Linked DNA regions of Homo sapiens: region 1 is linked to region 2. The links are contacts of gene promoters, found by promoter capture Hi-C in blood cells and fetal thymus (Javierre and others, 2016). All regions are on one chromosome and are shown on one strand. Each heading gives the region's core, a stretch centred on a gene start or on the middle of the fragment in contact. The rest is flanking DNA. Distances are from core to core; before and after follow the strand shown. Region 1 holds the start of KBTBD2 (kelch repeat and BTB domain containing 2). Region 2 holds the start of DPY19L1 (dpy-19 like C-mannosyltransferase 1).

What was found. Contacts are between HindIII fragments. The CHiCAGO score rates a contact against its expected background, and 5 or more counts as called.
Region 1: a contact is called between a fragment that was not itself captured here and the fragment with the promoter of DPY19L1 in region 2, in 1 of 17 cell types (total B cells). The highest score is 5.9, in total B cells.

The regions. Positions count from the first base shown.
Region 1 is chr7:32,886,725-32,892,064 of GRCh38, forward strand. It overlaps KBTBD2 (kelch repeat and BTB domain containing 2), which reads right to left and starts at 5,036. Exons shown (of 4, transcript NM_015483.3): 1 at 4,812-5,036. RefSeq lists enhancers at 2,036-2,561, 5,117-5,340 and a silencer at 4,396-5,340. The HindIII fragment of the contact is 2,297 bases long and covers 1,263-3,559 here.
Region 2 is chr7:35,035,247-35,041,029 of GRCh38, forward strand. DPY19L1 (dpy-19 like C-mannosyltransferase 1) reads right to left here and starts at 2,239. Exons shown (of 22, transcript NM_001366673.1): 1 at 1,851-2,239. The coding sequence starts at 2,148. LOC105375228 (a long non-coding RNA gene) reads left to right here and starts at 1,540. Exons shown (of 3, transcript XR_001745162.3): 1 at 1,540-1,675. RefSeq lists silencers at 1,929-2,098, 2,129-2,798 and an enhancer at 2,849-3,078. The HindIII fragment of the contact is 4,166 bases long and covers 646-4,811 here.

The DNA of each region.
Region 1 (5,340 bases), core at 1,161-3,660, 2.1 Mb before region 2:
CTTCTCACTATAAGCAGCAAAACATGCCTGAAAGTCTATCAGCAAAGAAAATTTACAAAGTAAATACTACTTTAATACTCATAAAGAGATAAGTGACCATGAAATTGTTTTACAGATTCTGATTATTAACATTAAAGGATAAGGAACCAAGATTAAAAGTATGAAATGTTGAAATTTTTAAAAAATCCCAAATACTTTTAAAGATGTCAGAGGTTGATGGCAGTGTTTTGGCTTTTTGGGGGGAGGCAATGAGGGGGGATAGATGTCTAATTTCACTTTGAAATCAAGTTTTCATTCCTAGAGGTGTGTACTTTGTAGCATCCTCCCACTGAGTAGCCTGGAAACACAAATAGAAGCAAAGCAAGCTTTTCCAATGTTAACCAGGCAGAATATAGAGACTGAGGAACGAATAAAGGATTAAAGAACTATTGAATGTGATAAAGAAACCAATCAGCAATTAACTGAGCTGTGGATGAAAAAGGAAGAAAGGATAAAAAGATGGGAAGGAGGCTGCTAGCAAGGCCTGCTACAATAAGCACAGTAGTAGGTACAAAGTTTCCATTGGACAGGAGGAATAAGTGTTACTGATCTGTTACACAGCATGTTGATGATCGCAGTTAACAATAATATACTGTGTATTTCAAAACTGCTAAAGATTCTAAATGTTCTCACCACAAAAAAAATAAGTACATGAGGTGACAGATGTAAATAGCCTGATTTAATCATTCCTCAATGTGTACATAGATTGAAACATCACATTGTAGCCCACAAATACATACAATTATTTGCCAACTAAAAATAAAATAAATTATATAGTAGGAATGAAGGAATGATAGGTCTCCCTCCAGGAGGGGCAGTGCGGCTATAAATCATTCACCTGTAGGAAGCACATTCAAATTGTACATTACTAACTTAGGGAGTGCTGCATCTCCCAATGCTACAAATGTCAATAGAGAAGATTAAAAATTTTTGTTGGAAAAGATCCAAGGCGTTCTCCATGGAGGTCAACCGTTGAAAAATAATTGAGTACAAACCCAAACTACTTGGGTTAAAGCCCCAGTTCTGCAACTTAATAGCTGTGTGGCCCTTTTTAAGTTATTTATTCTCTATGCCTCAGTTTGCTCATCTATAAAATGTAGTTAAAAGTACAACTCTCTTCTCAATGAATTGTTCTAGGATTACATTTCATACTTGGTTCAGTACCTGACACACAGCACTACACAGATATTCGAAATTATTTTTATTAACCCACCCACTGGTGAAGCTTTTGCAGCACTTTCCCAACTCCTGGATTCCACACCTTCACCAGGTCCGAAGATTCCAATTTCAAGGTCTCAGCACTCCAAATACAGTTCTCTTTTTTCATTCTGTCTAAATGGTATTTTACATAAGAGAAATCCAATGTTTTCAGAGAATATTGGGACTTTTTTGCAAACATTTGACACTTGAAATCTGAATTCAGTGTTCTAAAATATTAAGATAATTTTTCCTTTTTTTTTCCTTTTCTCACATATTTTGATGGTACAAATAATGAAACAAACTAGTGCTTAAAAGACGACCAATCTTGAGGAGGCTGATGTCAGTGTAAAAAACTAAATGAGAGTCCAGAAAGGCACCAGTCATAAAACAAGCCTTTCTTTATTTCAATGAGATAGTTTTCTCCTTAGGAAGGACAAGAGATGGGTGCTAGAAACAGTTTGCTTTCAAGTTATCAAAACAACCACGACAGTTGAGAATGTCTGGAAAAGACCATTTGTTTTTTAGATTGTCAACTGCTACACAAACAGAATTTTCTGGAGTTGTGACAGGCATCAATTAAAAAACAAACCAAAAAAAAACAAAAAAACCAAAAAAACAAACACCTGGCCTTTTGAAGAATCTATCAAGTTTTAAAAATTTCAGCATACTTGCAGTGAGCCGAGATCGCATCACTGCACTCCAGCCTGGGCGACACAGCGAGACTCCGTCCCAAAAAAAAAAAAAAAAAAATTTCAGCATAGCTTCCTCTGCTCTAGTCACATTCAGAGCTTAGGTCTGTTCTCTCTTTCCAACCATACTGATAGATGACATGGCTCCATCAGGTTAATTACGCTCAGCACCCTAAGTAAATTCAGGTCACAAGTACAAGCTGTACTATATTATGATTAACAAGTTATCTCAGTTTTAAAAAATTAAACAAGAACATAAAGGCAATGCCACCTGCGATACAATAATCATATGAGTATACTATGTCCTTTTATTTTGGGTATCACTTTTCCTTTTTCCTCTCACCTCTGCGCAGTGACTTAAGAAAGCTGGGGAAAAGTGGCCAGGCGCAATGGCTCACACCAGTAAATCCCAGCACTTTGGGAGGCCGAGGCGGGCAGATCACCAGGTCAGGAGATCGAGACCATCCTGGCTAACACGGTGAAACCCCATCTCTACTAAAAATACAAAAATTAGCCCAGCGTGGGCTACTCAGGAAGCTGAGGCAGGAGAATGGCGTGAACCCGGGAGGCGGAGCTTGCAGTGAGCCAAGATCGCGCCACCGCACTCCAGCCTGGGCGACACAGCGAGACTCCGTCTCTTAAAAAAAAAAAAAAAATTACTTGAGATCGGCCGTCTGCGGTAGCTCACGCCTGTAATCCCAGCACTTTGGAAGGCCGAGGTGAGGGGATCACGAGGTCAGGAGCTCGAGACCAGCCTGACCAACATGGTGAACCCTCATCTCTACTAAAAATACAAAAATTAGCCAGGCCTGGTGGGGCGCGCCTGTAATCCCAGCTACTCAGGAGGCTGAAGCAGGAGAATCACTTGAACCCTGAAGGCGGAGGTTGCAGTGAGCCGAGATCGTGACACTGCACACCAGCCTGAGTGACAAGAGACTCTGTCTCAAAAAAAAATTACTTGAGATCAACCTGTCATTTCTAATACTGAGTTATTTAAGTATCAGTTGGTCTATTCAAACTCTACAAAACTGAAAAGATTAAGCTAACAAAGGACTTTGAAATTTTCACTCATATTTTATGACACCAGGATCAATCCTTTTTCCTGGCCTTACTTGTCTTAGGAATGTGGGCAAAGAGAAGAGGGGAAGGGGGACTCTTTTCTAAATGTGTAACATTTTTGGAAAAACCAATGTTATCATTTGGCTTTTAAGACTGCATTCAAGTTTCTAGGAATTCACCTTGCACATTCAATGTTCAATGTTTAGGAATGAAAAGCTCAACATTTCTACCAACCAGAAGAAAATCTATGGAGGAGCATGGACATATGTACTGATACCTCTATTCCTTCCCATCTCCTTACATGCCCTGTGAATAACATAAGTTAACATTTTATAATGCTTCTTATGAGAGCAAAAAGGGGAGTAGAGTTACAGCACTCATAAAGTCTTCCTACAAAACTGTGCAAAGAAAACACCACTATGTGGAAACGTGTGGACTACAGAGCATGCTCAACAGAAAGGCCACAGCACTCCCGAGTTACTGACAGAAAACAACCTCTTGAGGATTCCAGGCCCCAACCTAAAAGGGCTTCAATAAGCACTAAGCCAACAGAAGATCAAAGTGAAGAAGTAAGCTTAACATTAGTTATCAGCCAGATGGAAAGAATAGCAAAATTCCACATCATCGAGATTAGAAAACAACCGACTGGCTTTTCAATTTACTTTAGATCAGAAAAAAAAGTCGGGGAAAAAAGTCCTTATCAAAGGTTAACCAAACTAAGTCATTCACAATTACAAGAGATCTAAGACCCATACTACTCAAATTCGGCAAAAATGTACAACTCAGAGGGAAGAGGGGGAAGATCCCTGTTAATTAGTTGCCTCGATAAAAGAAAATATCATTTTGGTCAGTGCACAGCGTTGATAGGGTTTCGTTTCTCAATGCCTAAATGCTGTGAGCCCGACGTACAGATTCAAGTATAAACAACACGTGACCAGTCCTGTTGCCTACGTCTTCATAAGGCTAATTGACACAGAAGATAGTTCACACACACACCCTTTTAAAGTTCATTTTGTATTTTGAATTCTTTTCCTATTTTCACTGGAAGGGGTCACCGTGGTAGCCCGTGGGATGGACGCTCCTCTACCTTTTGAGGCAGGTAGAGTTCTTAGATAGCTAAGCCCAAGGGAAAAAAAGATGTTAACTCAAAATAACCGCCCCACACCAAACTAAGCGATTTTTCTATTCCCCGGTTGTTCAATCCGTAGGGAGAAGGAGGTGGTCGAATTCAAGGAAGTTAAAGATTTCACAAAGTAAACACGTACACAATTTTCCGTTTCAAAGGGCAGTTTCTGCTTTCTTTTTTAAGTCGATATAGACCATAACAGGAGCTCTGTTCGTCTAGACCTCTCTTGGTTAGTTCAGATGTACGCGGGGGGAATACAGAAGGAAGGGGGTGTCCTCCTTCGGCCCACCATGTCGCGAACACGTCGCGAGTCTTTAAGGGAAACAGCTTTACTTCGGTAAGGGCGGGCGCGAGCCGAGGCCAAGGCGCCGCCCGGGAGCCCCGCGGGCGCCGAGGCGCCCGGTGCCGGGGCCGGAAACGCCCAGCTAGCGGCGTACCGGGCCGCCCCTTCCCCGCGGACCTGCCCGGAGCTCCGCCGCCCTGGGGCCGCCGCGGGGTGCGGAGGGCGGCGCCGGCCGCCCGCGCCCCTCCCCCGCCCGCGGCGGAAGCGTCTCGGGTTTGAAAGATGCCGCGGCCGCCGCCTCCCACCCGCCGAGCCACAAAGGGCCGAGCCCCCTCCCGCCACAGCCCTCCTCCCCGGCCCCTCCACAGGTCGCCGCGGGCTCCCAGCCTGCCCGGCGCTACTGTCGCCTGCTCACCCGCGTCCCTCGGTCCGGAGGTGTGGGATCCGCTCCAGCCGGTGGCCCCGTCCACACTGGGCCCCTCCGGCGCGGCGGCGGGGGCGTGGCCCTCCCGCCGCGGCCTCGCCTGGGGTCTCGCCTCCGCCTCCGGCCGAGGAAGGCTGGCGCCGCCGCCTCTTCCTTCCGGTTTCCCCTCGCACCCTCCCTCGCTTGGTCCGTCCAGCGCGGAAAGCAGCGTCCTCTGCGGGCGCCGCCGCACGCTCCTCAGGGCCCGACCACCGCCAGACTCCTCCCCCGGGAGCCGCGCCGCCCGCCCGCCCGCGCCGCCTTGTCAGTCCGGGGCCGCGAGACGCCGGGCCCGCCGCCCCCGCCGCCCCCGCCCCCGCCCCCGCCGCGCGCTCTCGCCCCCGCCCGCGGCCCGGGAACGCGCGCGCAATGGACCGCTGGCCAGCCTGCCGCGCCCGCCCTCGCCACGCCGCCCTCCCGCCTCGCGCGCGCGCGCGCCTGTCGGCACCAGCGGCAGTTTTGCAGTTTCCCGGGTCCTCGC
Region 2 (5,783 bases), core at 989-3,488:
AATCTACCACATTCACTGTACCTCCTTTCAATGCTCAAAGGGGCAAGTCAAGCAACGTGCTATACTGTTACATTAATACAAAACTGTATTTAGGTATGGGAATTACTAAATCCAAAGGTAAGTCATCCAAATATAAGTCATGCATCCATCCAAAGAAGATTCAAAGGAAACGCAATCAAAAAAGAAAATATGCAGAAAATAGCAATAAATATCATTATTCTAAGATTTGTTATTGTAACATCCCTGAAGAAGCAATGCCATTCTATATTTTACTACAAAGTGGTTAATGTTTAGTCATTCAATAAAAATGCAACTCCATTCTGTCATCAGATCTCAAATCAGCATCACACACTTTCTTTTATTACAACAACTACAATGTGTCAAGTGCTCTAAACACAAAGTATCTTCCCATGTATCACCCACACCTTTTAGTTATGATCCTTAACAGATCCTGTGGATCCCTGTGGAGTAAATTCGCCATGTGATAACCCCCCACTAGCAGAGAACGAAAGACTCACAAAGGAACCTGAAACTTAAACCAAACTGAACCGCTGTGTACTAGATCTGAAGGCTCTGCCTCATCCACTGTATCGTGCTGCCTCCCCAAGGTGAGCTTTTCTAACCTGCATACTAGCCAGCTTTTCAAGCTTGCTACTGAGATAAAAAAAAAGGGGGCGGGGGGAAATGTGCTGGAAACAGACAAACAAACAAACAAAGAAAAACAAACTTGGTTTTTCTAGGCTTGAATCGGCAATGGGGGGAAAAAAAGTACCCTAGGAACAACCTTCTTGAGCCCATTAAAACATACAGAGATGACTGGCTTTTTATGACTGAGTGGCTTTTATTTGTGGCTGTGATCTCAGGGGAAGCCAATTTGCTGTGTCCTATTCCTTGACTTATACTGGACCCCAACTCCTGGCTAAGGGAACTTTGAGTCACCAAGGGAATCTGAAAATATACTAAGGGATAAATCAACAGTAATTAAATAGTTCAGTAGCGAAAAGCCCACTGAGGCATATAGAAAAAAGCAATGTAACAGCATTTCACTAGTTGACTTAGAAAAATTAGGCCTGTTATCCAAACTGCTACAACTTGCCTTATCAAAATTCAACCAGGAAACAGAGGAAACCTGAAGTCAGTCCGAAACATACGAATGCGTCAACTTTGTTTTTTTTTTTCAGCACATCATTACACATCATCCATTTGGTAAATGGCAGAGGGAGGGGAGGAGAGCCCTCCTCACCAAAGGTTCCAAGGGCAGCAGGGAGGATTAAGGCTCGGGCGCCCCAAACACAACACAACCTAGAAAGTGACGTGTCGAGGGGAATCACAAATAAAGTGCCACCAGCGGCGTTTGCGGCCAGGAAGAAAAAAGTACGCTAAAATTTAATTATAAGTTTAAGCAACTCTCTACGACATGGAACGTGCGTTTGCTTTGAGCTCCACGGAATCGTTTCCAAGCCAAAGCAAACCATCCTGGCGGTCAGAGGCCGAGATAACGGGAAGGCGGCCAGTCGTACCAATCAGCAGCGCTCAAGTCTCGTTAGCGCAGACCTGCTGCCCGCGGCCAGGCCGGGCAGCTGTTGATCCCCGGGCCATTCTTTTAAAGCCCAGGCAGAGCGCGGGTGGGAAGCGTGCGAGGAGAGCTGAGCCAGGGAGTTGCGGGGAGGAGAAGGTAAGAATGTCCCAGAGAAAAAGTCGGAGAGGGCTGCAAACTGGCTGGTCCGGCTGGCGGGGCTCGGCGCGGCGGAAGCGGGAGGAGAGGGGAAGGAAGGGGAGGGGAGGGGAGGGGAGGGGGCCAGCGCCTCAAAGTTCCGCGTCCCGGCGGCGCCGGCGCTAGGGCTGCTCACCTAACAGGAGCGTGGTCCAGGTCCGGCCGCGCCCCGCGCGCCGCAGGCCCAGCGCCCAGCGCAGCCGGGCGGCCAGGCGCCCCCCAAGGCCGCCCCCGGCGGGCGGCGCGCCGGGCTCGGCGCGGGGCCCCTTCCTGCCCGCGGCGCCCTTGCGCCCCGGGGACAGGGGCGCGCGCTCGGGCCCCGGCTCCCCGGCGCCGACGTCCGACGCCCCCCTCAGCGGCGACTGTGAGGCGCGGGGTGGCTGGGGCGGCTTGGGAGCCGCCTCCCGGTGCTTGTTCCGCGCCTGCAGGACCATCTTGGCATAGTCGCGCCCGCTCGCTGCGCGCGCCCGGACGGCGGCCAGAGAACGGCGGGCTGGCTGGGCGGCTGGGCGCAGCTCACTCTCCAGCGGGCGGGCGGGCGGAGGGTGGAGGGCGGGCTCGTCCCTCCCCGCGGGCCGGGAGGCGGGGAGATCGTGGAGGCCGGGCGGCTGCTGCCTGGCTGGCAGTACCGCCGGGAGGCGGCGCCGGACTTGCTAGCCCGCCGCCGTTGCCGCCGCTCCGGTTGTCACGGCGACCGCGGAACGCCGGGGGGCGGGGGCGGGGACACCCTGCGAGCGGCCGCGGCCCCGCCCCCGCCGCCCCTCTGCGCCGGACGCGCGCTCCAGGCCGGCCAGCGCGCACGCGCGGACTTCCGGCGCAGGCGGGGCCCGACCCCTCTGGCGCCCGGCTACCCACACCTCTTCGGCGCCCGCGCGGGGCTCGGCCGGTGCGAGGACGCGGGGGCGGACGGCCTTCCGGAGGCGGCCGCCCTTCCATTGTGGGAGTGATGGGGCCGAAGGAAGAGCCCTCTCGGGATCGGGGCGCTGATTCAAGTTTCGGAGCCTGTTAAGGCTGCGCTTGGAGCCCGCGCAGGCGAGACGCGGCGGGGCAGGGAGAAGGCGCCCGGAGCGGCCACTTAGGGGCGCTGTGCGTGCGCCCTGGGCGCCTGGTCGGCCCCACCGATGTGAAGCGCGCGGGTGGCAATCAAGTCACCGTCTCCGTTTACTCCCCGCAGTGTGGTCGCGCAACTTGGAGCGCAGCCCCTCACTCACCGACAAGAAGAACGGGTGCGACCCGATTTAAGATAGTAACAGAGTATTAAAATAGCAGCCTGGAATCTCATGGGGAGCTGATAAGGGACGAGGCACAAGTGTAAACTGAAGACCAGGGTAGGAGCCAGGCTGAAGGTGATAGGATGGATTGGCTGGAGCAGGAAAGATCATCAATAAGTACATTCAGTTTGTTACACTTGCTGTAACCTTGTTGCTTAATAGGAAGCAGGAAAACTTGGCGTTGATAAGATAGGAGATTTTAGTCGAAAATATGTTTTCTTTTACATAGCAGAATGCACGAGTAAATTAAACCCGGGAAAATTTAGAAACCCAGGTAGATCCCAATTCTCCCTCCACCCCTGCATTCTTTGCACACAGTCTTACAACAGCATGGATTACAACTGGGAGGTTCCTTTCCTGGCCGTGCCCAGTGGCTTGTTCCAAAAAGTTGTCTTTAAGTCCCAATGTTGTAAATCAAGGCCCATCGTTCTGCTTATCTCTATTGTAATTCCAGGGACTTCACGTGGCTTTCTCGCTCTTTGTTTCTTTGCCCAGTGATTTCTTTACTAATACCAGCATTCGTTCATTGTTAGCCTTTTTAAGAGACAGTGGATTATTTTGTAAAGGGAGGGTGTTTGCCATGCTAATTAATACTCCCTCATACCCTGTCTAGTTTATGAATTTGGATTTTCCAATGTCTTTATTGGAGCAAAGAACAACTATTTTTATACACTGGTTTAAAAAATAATGGTTGAAAGTAGGATGCAGAAGGCTTGGATTCTGAAACATTGTGTCAGCTGAACTCAATGCTACCTCTGGGATTAATGTTGAATGTATTCAGTTAAAAGAAAGCTAATTCAATGCCTATTAAAGATAATACGAATAACTGGCCGGGCACCGTGGCTCACGCCTGTAATCCCAACACTCTGGGAGGCCGAGGCGGGCAGATCACGAGGCCAAGAGTTCAAGACCAGCCTGGCCAAGATGGTGAACCTCTGTTTCTAATAAAAATACAAAAATTAGCCAGGCGTGGTAGCAGGCGCCTGTAGTCCCAGCTACTTGGGAGGCTGAGGCAGAAGAATCGCCTGAACCCGGGAGGCGGAGGTTGCAGTGAGCTGAGATACGCCACTGCACTCCAGCCTGGGCGACAGAGCGAGACTCCATCTCAAAAAAATAAATAAATAAAAATAATACAAATGATGGATTTTTTTTAATGATTAGAAAGACGCATGGAAAAAGAGGTTCAACATTTGAATTATTAGATTGCTGTGTGTCTACTTTATGTGATAGGCCCTGAATTCAGGAACTGCCTCCCTTAAGCTGGTACCGTTTGTACCAGGAAAACACTTGTTGAATGAGTGAGTGAATGAATGCAGTTCCACAAGTGCTTGTCAGTTCCCCTTCTCGGCTTGGCAACCATGCGGAGAGGGGCAGTGTGAGGTATTAGTTTTTTGGTTTTTTTGTTTTGTTTGTTTTTTTCTTAAACACGGTCAATTTAGATCCAGTTTGCAGCCACTACATTGACCCATACCAGCCTTGACCAAGGTATTATACCTCTTTGAGTCTGGATTTCTTCATTCTTAAAATGGAGGCAACAAAAACATCTAGTTCACAGGTTTGTAAAAAATAAGACAATGTGTGTAAAGCATCTAACAATTACATATATCCAAGTAGTTGCTCAGTGAATGTTCAAATTGTCTGGATGTTGGTAGTTGCTCAATAAGTGTTCAAAGTAGTGGATGACGTTTAAGGAGAGTGGCAAACTTCTGTCCTCCCAGAACCTGAAGTTGACATTCCAAGTTGGGGTATAGCAAGGGGAGAATGCCACTCTGAGCGGGAGAGCAAGAACAGCCACGTGATCTTTAAGCCAGGCCTGCTGGGCTTCAAGCTTCTCAGCTCTCTGGGCAGTTGATGTGCCTGAATGGTTTCCTGCTTTCCACAGATGCTTTACAAATGTTGCCCATCTCATGGGTCCTTAGGCCTGGATAAAATAGTAGGCAACTCCTCGTGCCCCCTCCCAAAAGGGAGGCATTTCACACAGGAAGGGTGGAGGAATGGAAACCAGAACAGTCATGGAAGATTATGTGCCAGATTTCATTTTATCCTTAGTACAACGAGATCCACAAGAGCAGAGAATGGGAATGCAGTTAATTTCTATATGTATCTGTAGACCAGTGCCTGCCACACATAGCGGTGGATGCTAAAAAACAAAAAATCTCTGGCAAACTGAAAGCTGCATATTAAAAAAACATTTTGTACATGGATGATCTATGAACGGATCTAAGATTATAATGAAATTAAGCATTAAAATTACCAGCTTTAATGTGCTTTTTTTCTGGGAGTTCCAGATGCACCAGAAAGGTACTTCCTGCATGATGCTATAGAAATACTGGGTCAGGGCAGACAGATTTTTAAGGACAGGAACCTGAAAGGGCAACCACTTATAAAGAATTGCTGCTGCCCTGGCCCCTGGGGTGCAAGCCGAGTCTTTTTCTCACTACAAGTTACACTTTGGGCATTGAAATAAAAATGTTTAATTAAAAAGACATATCTTTTAAACTTTGGGGATGGAGACAGAGGAGATTATAAGGAGGAAATGAGCATAAAATAAAAAGCAAGAACATAAAATCATAGAAGAAAACAAGATGTGGAGAAATAAAGCTTAGTGATAATAAGGTATAGGAATCAGGGAAACATTGTCAGATGGGCAATGAAAAAAGTAAATTTGGTCAAGGGAAGACTATGTTGGGAACCAGTTTTCTTATGTCTCCACATTGGCATTTTAAAGGCCCCATTTAGAACTTCTAAATATTCCCCTTTTCCTCCTACTTGCTCTCCTACCCATAGAGTGACAGCTG